Linked DNA regions of Homo sapiens: all the other regions are linked to region 4. The links are contacts of gene promoters, found by promoter capture Hi-C in human tissues and cell types (Jung and others, 2019). All regions are on one chromosome and are shown on one strand. The core of a region is centred on a gene start or on the middle of the fragment in contact, and the rest is flanking DNA. Distances in the headings are between cores, read along the strand shown.

Evidence for each region. The method cuts DNA at HindIII sites, captures the fragments that hold promoters and counts their contacts. A contact is called where the count stands out against the background at its distance.
Region 1: a contact is called between a fragment that was not itself captured here and the fragment with the promoter of FAM20A in region 4, in 2 of the 25 tissues and cell types used here (mesendoderm cells and thymus).
Region 2: a contact is called between a fragment that was not itself captured here and the fragment with the promoter of FAM20A in region 4, in 2 of the 25 tissues and cell types used here (mesendoderm cells and thymus).
Region 3: a contact is called between a fragment that was not itself captured here and the fragment with the promoter of FAM20A in region 4, in 3 of the 25 tissues and cell types used here (H1 embryonic stem cells, mesendoderm cells and thymus).

The regions. Positions count from the first base shown.
Region 1 is chr17:68,496,346-68,499,045 of GRCh38, forward strand. It overlaps a transcript of PRKAR1A not described here. Among named protein-coding and RNA genes, the nearest start is that of PRKAR1A, 15 kb to the right of the region's middle. RefSeq lists a silencer at 2,202-2,385. The HindIII fragment of the contact is 5,296 bases long and covers 1-2,700 here.
Region 2 is chr17:68,725,326-68,728,025 of GRCh38, forward strand. No RefSeq gene overlaps it. Among named protein-coding and RNA genes, the nearest start is that of LINC01482, 99 kb to the left of the region's middle. The HindIII fragment of the contact is 3,719 bases long and covers 1-2,700 here.
Region 3 is chr17:68,697,453-68,700,152 of GRCh38, forward strand. No RefSeq gene overlaps it. Among named protein-coding and RNA genes, the nearest start is that of LINC01482, 71 kb to the left of the region's middle. The HindIII fragment of the contact is 3,203 bases long and covers 1-2,700 here.
Region 4 is chr17:68,600,010-68,602,709 of GRCh38, forward strand. It overlaps FAM20A (FAM20A golgi associated secretory pathway pseudokinase), which reads right to left and starts at 1,358. Exons shown (of 11, transcript NM_017565.4): 1 at 254-1,358. The coding sequence starts at 657. The HindIII fragment of the contact is 4,098 bases long and covers 1-1,878 here.

The sequences.
Region 1 (2,700 bases), core at 112-2,611, 100 kb before region 4:
CTGCATTTTCAAAGCCAGCAATGGCCAGATGAGTCTTCCTAATGCTGCATCACTCTGATACTAGCTTTCTATCTTCCTCTTCCACATGGAAGGACCCTTGTGATTACACCGGCCACGTCCAGATAATCCAGGACAATCTCTGTATTTTAAGATCATCTGATTAGTAACCTTAAATTCATCTACAATATTAATTCCCATTTGCCATGTACTGTAACACTTCAACATGTTTTTGGGCAGTAGGACGTGGACGTTCTTGCAGGGGTCATCATTTGGCTGACTGCAGTCTGTGAGCTCCTATGGTAAAAAGGCTGTGAACTATGTATCACTCTCCTCGAATGTAGAACAGAAGTCTGCTATGTAGTATATGAGGAAGACATGATATTTGTTCAAATGGAGTTTATATTCTAAAAGAAGGGGTCAACAAATTTGGATCTATCACCTGTTTTTGTACAGCTCTTAAGCTTAGTTTTTACTTTTTTTTTTTTTTTTTTTTTTTTTGAGACAGGGTCTCACTTTGTCACCCAGGCTAGAGTGCAGTGGTGCAAACACAGCTTACTGCACTTGACCTCCTGGGCCCAAGTGATCCTCCTGCCTCAGCCCCACAAATAGCTGGGACTATAGGCACACACCACCATGTCTGGCCCATTTTTGTATTTTTTGTGGAGACAGGGTTTTGCCATGCTGCTCAGGCTGGTCTCGAACTCCTGAGCTCAAGTGATCTGCCTGCCCAGGCCTCCCAAATTTCTGGGATTACAGGCGTGAGCCACTGTGCCTGGCTGTATATTTTTCAGTGGCTAAACAAGCTCGAATGGAGAATGATATTTTGTGACATAAAAATTAGATGAAATTTACTTTAAAGTGTCCATAAGTCAACTTTTATTGGAACACAGCCATGCCCATTCATTTATTTGTTGTCTATGCTGCTTTCACACTATAGTGGTGAAGGTGAGTGGTTGCAACAAAGACCTTATGGCCACAAAGTCTAAAATAATTACCTATTTGACCGTTGACAGAAAAAAAATTGCTAGTCCCCGTTCTAGAGGGAACTTTAGAACTTTCTGTGATTGTGGGAATATGCTGTATCTGGGCTGTCCAATATGGTAGTCACTAGCTACAGCTGGCACTTGAAATGAGGCTAGTACCCCTAAGGAAAAGACTTTTAAGCTTTATTTGATTATAATTAATTTAGATTTGAAGAGCTCCCTGTGGCTAGTGGCTACTGTACTGACAGCCCTAGGAGATGAGATGATAATTATGAAGATGCTGATAAAAATGTGATAATTTACCATGTGCCAAGTGCCGTGCTAAGAGAACAAGGATGATGCTCTTATGATTCTCATTTTACAGATGAAAAAAAACTGAAGCTTAGATGGATCAAGTATGTTGCCCAAGGTTACACAGCCAGAGAGGGGCAAGCTAGAACCCAGGGAGGTTGACTCCTGAGCTGTTGCTCTAACCATTAGGCTATGCTGCCTCACGAAAGACAAGACACATAGACATTGAATTGTAACATGTGAGAGAATATAATGAGTGCTATGAAAGAAGCAACAACAAGGCAGAGAAATAATTAAGGGGAAAAACTTCTGACCAGGGAGGGAAAAGACACCTTCTTCATGGGTGCCAAACTACTTAAGATGGGCTCTAAAATTTGGGCAGGATTTTGATTGACACTTACATGCTTGTAAGCTAGATGGATGCAACCACCTAAACACAGGTGTGATGGGGGAAGTAAAGGGGGGGTTAAGGGATTGGAAAGCAGTCCACTTTGAAAATTCATGCCACACCTTTGCTAGCAAAGGGCCACAAGTTTTCTTGGCAGCTGGTGCACTTCCTCTTTTCTCTCCGTAACGACCATGTAAATGACCTTGCCTTCGTTTTCACTTTGACTGGAAGTTTAGCTTCAAACTTGAGCTTAACTTGAGCAAGAGCAAGGAACCACACAGCTTGAATATTTGAGTTTCTTCTCCTTTCCTCCCCAAAAGCTCAATTTCTGCTCTGATGAGTGTTTTCTCTGGTCTTAATATTTGTTTTTATCCATATTTTAACATCATTTCATTACGTATTTATTTCTTGCAATGCCCCTGGGTCGTTTTGTGAATACGTGTGGGTATAAATGACAGAATAGGTTCTGGTTGTGGGAGGATGTGAACCCAGGGAGATAAATTGGAAAAGATAAGTTGGTGTCAGGCACTGGGTACAGTCAGGGTCAAGGAAGCTGGTGGGTGCTCCTGCCTTTGAGAAATAGCCTGAGCCAGTTAGGTGCCATCCCCATGCCCTTATCTCCTGCAGCCTTGGCTGCAATCCTGGCAGCTCCCCACTCAGTTCTTGGAAACCTGGCAATTGGCCCTAGTTCCATCCCACGCCACTGCCCGCTTGCTTCCTGTGCTGGCTCTGATGTCTGTTGACATCTTCTTCGAGTGTTAACTCCCAAACATCCTCAGTTTCAGTCTTGTTATTGGCATCAGGGGACACACTGGCATCCTACAATCTCTCTAAAGTACAGGCCAATCAGATCCCTCTCCTCTTTAAAGGTCTTCTGTAGCTCTCAGGTGGAAGTCCAAGTTCAGTAGCTTTGCTTAGGGTCCTCGTTCACACCCCAGCTCTGCCTCTTCCTCACTACATGACTTGGGCAAGTTGTGTAACTTCTGTATGCCGGAGTTTCCTTATCTGTAAAATAGGAACAACAATAGTACGTACCTC
Region 2 (2,700 bases), core at 95-2,594, 130 kb after region 4:
AGGTTGCTAATGACTAGCTGAGCCAGACACACAACAACCAGGCTCTTCTCTCTCCAGTGATCTTGTGGTTCATTTCTCCCACCTTACCCATTCATTCTTCCCCCTCAACATACTCTTGGAATGACTGTATTTTTCTCGTTGTGTTTATGCTGATTACATATTTGTTGGTCTTGTCTCCCATACGCCCTCTTTACAGGGTGGGGACAGGCTTGTTCCCCACCATCCATTATCTAGAGTGCCTACTTACAGAGCTTCATTTCCCGAGGGAGTGCAGTAAAGGCTTGTTTATCAACTGCTGGATTCCTCAGAATGCTCTCTCTTCTACTATGGGAGCTTTTCTGATTAAACCCTCATTCAGGTCTGGTAAAGTCAGTTCGGGTCAATACCATTCACAATTCATAAGTTCCTCCTATGACTGAAGCACAGGGCTAAGACCTTTAAGCAAAGAAGATACAGTCTGTGCCTTCCAAAGCCTTTGAAGCAAGAGGAGGCATTATCAGTTCAGCAGCTTTCAGCCTTGCTGTTAACACATTCTGGTGGGCTCTATCAGTTGTGAGACATGTCATCAGCAGTTTGTTACAAATAATAGTTAAAGTGCTGAATAAAATGCACTAATAAAAATAAATCTAGCTAGGTGCGGTGGCTCATGCCTGTAATCCCAGCACTTAGGGAGGCTGAGGTGGGAGGATCACTTGAGCTCAGGAGTTGGAGAACAGCCTGGGCAACATGGTGAAATCCCGTCTCTACACAAAATTCAAAAATTAGCTAGGCATGGTGGTGTGCATCTGTAGTCTGAGCTACTTGGGAGGCTGAGTTGGGAGGATCACTTGAGCCCAGGAGATCGAGGCTGCATGAAATGAGATGGCACTACTGCGCTCCAGCCTGGGCAACAAAGAGAGACCCTGTCTCAAAAAAATAAAAACAAAACAAAATAAAAAAAAATTGAAAAGTAAATCTAAGTGGATTCAGGGTTATTTTGACTATAACCCTTCATAATTTTTCTAGCATTATTTATGTGTGTGAAACTCACATAAATATGTAGTTTCCAACTTAAATTTTTTTTCCTGATGCACATGTCCCCCATACCCCTGTGAATCTATATAAGGAGTGCTTGCTTCATTTCAGCTGAGACATAAGGTGTGGTGATGTATGTGTGCCAACCAGCTTACCAGCTCTGGCTTTGTGCCTCTCATCTGTGTTAGGAAGCTTATCTGAATGCAAGTCATCAGTGGTGAAATTATTACAAATGTCATCTTTTAGGGGGAGAGGAGGATAAATTCTGATGAGGAAAGAAATAGAAGGCTAAGTTTCCTGGGTGGGGCAAATCTCAGCTGGGCCTTGAAAAGTAGGTGGAATGTTGTCAGAGCTCTGGAGTATAGGGGTCAGCAGTAATAAGAAGGTTTGGGCCATGCAGAAAAGGACTTCGATAAAATTCAACATCCATTCATGTTAAAACAAACAAACAAACAAAACCCCTCAATAAACTAGGCACTGAAGAAACATACTTCAAAGTAATAAGAGCCATCTCTGACAAACCCACAGCCAACATCGTACCGAATGGGCAAAAGCTGGAAGCATTCCCCTTGAAAACCAGCACAAGACAAGGATGCCCTGTCTCACCACTCCTATTCAACATAGTATTGGAAGTCCTGGCCAGAGCAATTAGGCAAGAGAAGGAAACAAACGGCATCCAAATAGGAAGAGAGGAAGTAGAACTATCCCTGTTTGTAGATGACATGATTCTATATCTAGAAAACCCTGGCTGGGTGTGGTAGCTCATGCCTGTAATCCCAGCACTTTGGGAGGCTGAGGTGGGCAGATCACCTGAGGTCGGGAGTTCGAGACCAGCCTGACCAACATGGAGAAACCCTGTCTCTACTAAAAATACAAAATTAGCCAGGCGTGGGGCGCATGCCTGTAATCCCAGCTACTTGGGAGGCTGAGGCAGGAGAATCGCTTGAACCCAGGAGGCAGAGGTTGCAGTGAGCCGAGATCAGGCCACTGCACTCTAAGAAAACCCCATAACCCCATAGTCTCTGTCCAAAAGCTCCTTGATCTGATAAACTACTTCAGCAAAAGTTCAGGATACAAAATTGACAAACAAAAATCAATTGCGTTCTTATACACTAGCAACATCCCAGCTGAGAGCCAAATCAGGAGCACAATCCCATTTACAATTGCCTATGAAAAGAGTAAAATATCTCAGAATACAGCTAACCAGGGAGGTGAAAGAGCTCTATAATGAGAATTACAAAACACTGCTCAAAAAAATCAGAGATGGCACAAGTAAATGGAAAACATTTCATGCTTATGGACAGGAGGAATCAGTGTTGTTAAAAAGGTCATACTTCCCAAAGCCGTTTACAGATTTAATTCTATTTCTAACAAACTGCCAATGACATTCTTTATAGAACTAGAAAAAAGCTATTTTAAAATTCACATGAAACTGCAAAAGAGCTCAAATAGAAATGGCAATTCTAAGCAAAAAGAACAAAGCTGGAGGCATCATGTTACTCAACTTCAAACTATGCTACAGGGCTACCGTAACCAAAACAGCATGGTACTGGTACAGAAACAAACAGACCAATGGAACAGAATAGAGAGCCCAGGAATAAGGCCACACACCTACTATCATCTGATCTTTGACACAGCTGACAAAAACAAGCAATGGCCCCATTCAATAAATGGTGCTGGGATAAC
Region 3 (2,700 bases), core at 167-2,666, 98 kb after region 4:
TGACCCTCTCATTTTTCTGTATGTGTACAGGCTTATTATTATTATTATTTTTTACTTTAGTGCAAGGGTCAATCAACTTCCTCTTAAAGGACCAGGTATCAAATATTGTAGGCATTGTGGGCCATGTGGTCTCTGTTGCAATTATACAACACAGCTGTTGGAACACAAAAGTAACAATATGTGAATGAGTAGGCATGGCTGTGTTTCAATAAAACTTTACATATGAACACTAACATTTGACTTCCATATAATTTCCATGTGTCAAAAAAAAACTGTTCATTTGATTTATTTGTCAACCATCTAAAAATGGAAAACCATTCTTCACTCACAAACCATACAAAGTGGTAGAACAAATTTGGCCTGTGGGCTGTAGTTTGCTGACTCCTGTCTTAGGGGATGCCTCAGTGCACCTCCTGTTGTAAGGAGATTGGAGCTAGTTTCCAAGATAGAAATGAGTAATTTTGAAGTTTCCCCAGCAATTTCAAAATCCATTTTCAGGCTAGATAACTGGTCCATGATAAGTCTGAAAAGAAACAAGCCTGGACTTGCCTGCCTAACTCCATTATGAAATCTGTGGCTTCCAGGGACCTTGAAGTCTTCCAGGTCATATTCTAGACTTTATGACCACATTTAAACCAACTTAGGGATACACAGCCCCTGTCTGTTAGAGGAAAACATACCTTAACTCCTAGAGTAAACAATTTCATCCTCATGTCCCTTAAGCACTCATTTTCACACTGGCCAGCTTTCAGGGGTGTGATGCAATCTGACTTCCTAATGTTGTGGATGAGTAGTGTAATGTAATGTAATGTAATGATGTAATGTAATGGAGAGAGTTGTTTATTCCCCTACACATATGCACCAAAGGGGTAAATAATGGCGACTCTCCATTTCTGGGTTTTATTTGACATTTTCCTCTACTGGGCCAGCTATGACCTTAGGTGTGGATCATTTCCTTTTCCCTAGATGGAAGGAGCTGATGTTATGGAGAACGGGGGTGGTGTTTGCTGATGTGGTTCCTGAATGTTTCCAGCAGCCCAGAGTGAAGCACCACTATAACAGAATTTAAAAATAGAGAATAAAGTAAGCTTAATGTAGCAGTTTTCTCAAGACACCAGAGTAGGCATTTAAAAAATAACTCAGGATGATTCTTTCTGGAGTCTGCCAAGGCGCTGAATTCTGAGACCATGGTGGGATTCTGATATTTAAAAAAATGTTCGTTGGTGGGGGTGGGGAGGTGATGGACTGGCATAGTTTAGTGCAGTATCTTGTATCTAGTAGGCTCTCCATAAAGGTTTACTATACAAATGAAGGGGGTGAGGGTTTAGGAGAGCATTTTGTCTGAACAGGAATTCTGGTTTCCTTCCAGCTGAACTGCCTCTTGGGTTGCCTCTCAGGTCTTTGTAGAAACATATGACATTCTGAGGAGTGGAGAGAAGTTCCCCTTTGGATCCCAGGCAATTGGCACGTCAAATCCAGTCTTACTTTTATGACACCAGAGTCCACACGGCTTCCTGTTTCTAACAGCTGCTACTGGCTCAGCATTATCTCAAAAGAGGAATCCAGCTTCCTTGGTTTTTGCCAAAGCCCAAATCAATAAGCATCTGCTTTCTGCTGCATTTGCAATTGGCCCTACTGGCAGCAGGGAATGTTGAGCACGTAGAAGCCATGAGCCCCCACCTAGCTCAGGACTTGTTCTGGATTGTAGAGACTGTTCCTTTGTAGGGGAGAAGGAACTGGGGGTTCGGAGGGGTGGGAGAAGTGGAGGCTGGGGCTCTGTGTTGCCCTGTTTCCTTGTGAGATAACTAGGAAGTCTGGGCAATTTTTAAGTTCCCATCATTAATTACAATTTTGTTTTTTTTGCTGGGGGGAGTGGGCGGAGAAGGAGGGGAAGTTGGAAAGGGGTTGCTCTCTGGAAGTTATGAGACCCTGGAAAGAGAGAAGACATATTCAAAGAAAATTGAGACAAATTTTTTTTTTTTTTTTTTTTTTTGAGGCGGAGTCTCGCTCTGTCCCCTGGGCTGGAGTGCAGTGGCACCATCTTGGCTCACTGCAAGCTCTGCCTCCCAGGTTCACACCATTCTCCTGCCTCAGCTTCCTGAGTAGCTGGGACTACAGGTGCCTGCCACCACACCCGGCTAATTTTTTGTATTTTTAGTAGAGATGGGGTTTCACCATGTTAGCCAGGATGGTCTCGATCTTCTGACCTCGTGATCCGCCCACCTCAGCCTCCCAAAGTACTGGGATTACAGGCATGAGCCACTGCGCCTAGCCAAATTGAGACAAATTCTAAAGATTGTTTATAACCTCAAAATTAGTTCCATGCCCTTGATGCCAGAAGCATTTCTCCTCTGGTACAGAAAAGGCAAGTTTGCATGTTGACATTAGACTCTAGTCTCTTTAAGGTAAAATTCAGGTTCTACTGATCTTTGAAGCCTTGGCATCCAGCATGAAGCATGACATAGAGTAGGTGCTTAATACTTGTAGGTGACAGAGTGAACATCAGATGAGCAAGCAGAATACATGCTGAGCACCATCAGCTTTTCTGGATATGTGGGAAATTTAATCTTTTCTCAATACGATCCCAGCCTTTCTCTACCCAGAGACAAGCTGTTATCTGCAAAAAGTAGCAGAATTACATTCAACATCCAGACCTGCGATAGTGGCTTGAAAAGGTGTGCGACGTGTTGAATTTCAATC
Region 4 (2,700 bases), core at 108-2,607:
AGAGCGTTTCTTCGCTGTGCGGCTGCAATAGAAACTTTTTCCTCGTACTATCTGACTCCGGGACTGGACTGTGAGGTCTGCAACAGCTGGTGGGGTTCGGGTGGGGAACACACTCTAAGCCCAGCGCCAGGGCTGGAGCCGTGGGTGGAGCCGCTGCAGCCCTGGGCCGGGGGCGTCAGGAAACTCGAGACTGGGGCGCGGGGAGGCCCCGGCCAGAGCGCCCGCTCTCCCGCGTCCCGGGCGGGGTCCTCACCTGTTCCAGCGGGCCACCTTCCTCCGGTAATACCGCAGCGCCTCCTGGCTGGCCAGGAGCGAGTCCTCGGCTCCCAGGAGAGGCGGCTCCTCCGGGACGTTGTACAGCGGGTGGGCGAAGAGGGCCTGCAACTTGGAGCTCGACCCGCTGTGGCTGCCGCCAGCCGGTTCAGTCCGGGGCTCGGTTCGGGAAAAGTTGTGCACGATCGTGCCGGGGTCCGAGGCAGCTGCGGCCGAGTCCCGCGCCAGGGAGGAGGCGCGGCCGGTGCACGGGCACCCCCGCGGGCGCTCCCGAGGCCGCAGCTGGCGCTGTACTTGGGGCCAGAGGTGGAAGTAGAGGTCGGCGGAGAGCAGCGCGCCCAGCAGCAGCAGAGTCAGTAGGCGGTCCCGGCGCAGCCCCGGCATGGCGTGCTGGCCAAGGGGGACGCCGGGGGCAGGCCGGCTGTCTCCGGGGTCCCGGGAGGGGTCGCGGGGTGCGGGCAGAAGAGGTGCCTGGAGTCCCGCGGGTGGGCCGGGGTCAGTGAGACCGGAATGCTCCCCGCGCGGGCTAGTCCCCTGTGGAGGGGTGTCGCTCCTCAACTTGGGGACCAGGTGCACGGAGCACCGGGGCTCTCGGAGTCAGCGGGCGTCGCTTCTCCGCGCCGAGTGAGCCGAGGGAATGGGGTTCCCGGGGTGCCCGCTTCTTGCGCCTTTTCTCCCGTGCGCCCGCCCGCCCGGACGCTCGCGGCAGGTGAAGGGCCCCGGGGCGCCGGCGCCGGCTGCCACCGCGGGCGGACGGGCGACGGGGCGGGGGGCGACCGCGGAGGGCGGACGGAGGCCGCCGGCTGCAAAGCCCGGGGCGTCTCTCCTGAGGATGCTGTCGCTCGGCGGCGGCTGCTAGTGCTCCCGCGACTCCTCCTGCGGGCGGCGGAGACGCCAGTGCCGGCGGCTGGCACGGGCGGCGCGAGTGGGGAGTTGGCGAAGCAGGAGCGGCTCCGGGGAGCTTGTCTGTGCGCCTGGACTCCTAGAGGCAGAGGTAGCGCGGGGCCTCCCCGAGCCTGGCCTGGCGCCGGCACCCCCACCCACTCTCCGCTGGCACCTGCCTCTGGCGCAGCTGACGGCCAACTCCCGATCCGAAGCCGGCGCTGCCCTTGCACCTTGTCACCCACCCACTGCCTGCGCCCTCCCCCTCGCTCGGGCCTCCCACTTTCCCTGCCCAGGTCTCAATCCAGTCACTTTAAGGGACTCACGCGAGGGGTCCGAAGCCTCTTTTTACCATTTCTATTATTTTTAGGGAAAAAAAAACCACCACAAGCCCCCTAAAACCCTTTTTTTCCTGTAAGCTTTGCCAAATGAGTGTGTGGGGGGGGGTGGGGGGAGGCGGGGGTGGCAGTGTTGGTATCTGTTCTTTCTTTGTGTTCCCTTCCACCTCCGCCCCCCTGCAGAGCGCAGGGCACATCAAGATTCATAACAACTACCTACCACATGCCTGGCACATAGTAGGTGCTCAGGAAACACGCTCTTGGTGAAGGAAAGAGCTTGACCTTTAAAAGTAAGGTATCAGTTTTACCTAGAATCTTGCTGATTTCCTGTTTGGAAGGAGTTTGATTCCAACTCTGCCTGTACTTTAAAAAGAGGAAATGTTTCTTGCACTCAGGGAGGGAGGGGCCCTGATGACCCCACTCCGAACTTTTGAGTTTAGCTTGGTGTGAAAGTAGTCCACCCAAATGAATCACTGGAGGACACATTTAGGCTTTCTCCAATATTCTGTGAGGTAATGTACCCTCCCCACACCCAGTTTTCCTTTTGAAGAAGAGGGAGGGAGTCCTGAACTCCTGGCTCCTCTATTTAATGACCCCATAGTATAGTAAAGTGAAGTCTGATTGGAGAGGCGGCCCCACCCTGCTGAATTTCAGGAAATCCACCAGAAGCTGCTTGCCCAGGCAGCAAAGCTTCCCATGTAAGTTAGTTCTACTCTTTAACCCCCTCCCTTCCCTTGCTGGAATTGAGAACCCTCAGACATACTTTGACTTGTGGGTTCAGACCAGAGTTCTTTTCCCCGTGGTTCAGTGTAAGATTTCTTCGGGACTTTGCAGTCTCCTCAAATGTAAATGAAGATAATGATGGAACCTACCTCCTAAGGTTATTATGAGACTTAAATGAATTGAAGTACAATTATGTGTCACGTCTGAGAAATGCATCCTTAGGCAATTTTCCTGTGTGTGTGAACATCAGGGTGTACTTACACAAACCTAGATGGTTCAGCCTACTACACACGGAGGCTACATGGCATAGCCTGTTGATCCTAGGTACAAACCTGTACAGCATGCGACTACTGAATGCTGTAGGGAGTTGTAACACAGTGGTGAGTACTTGTGTGTCTAAACATAGGAAACATACAGTAAAAATACAGTATTGTAATCTTATGGGACCACTGTTGCATTGACTAAAATGTTATGTGGCACTTGA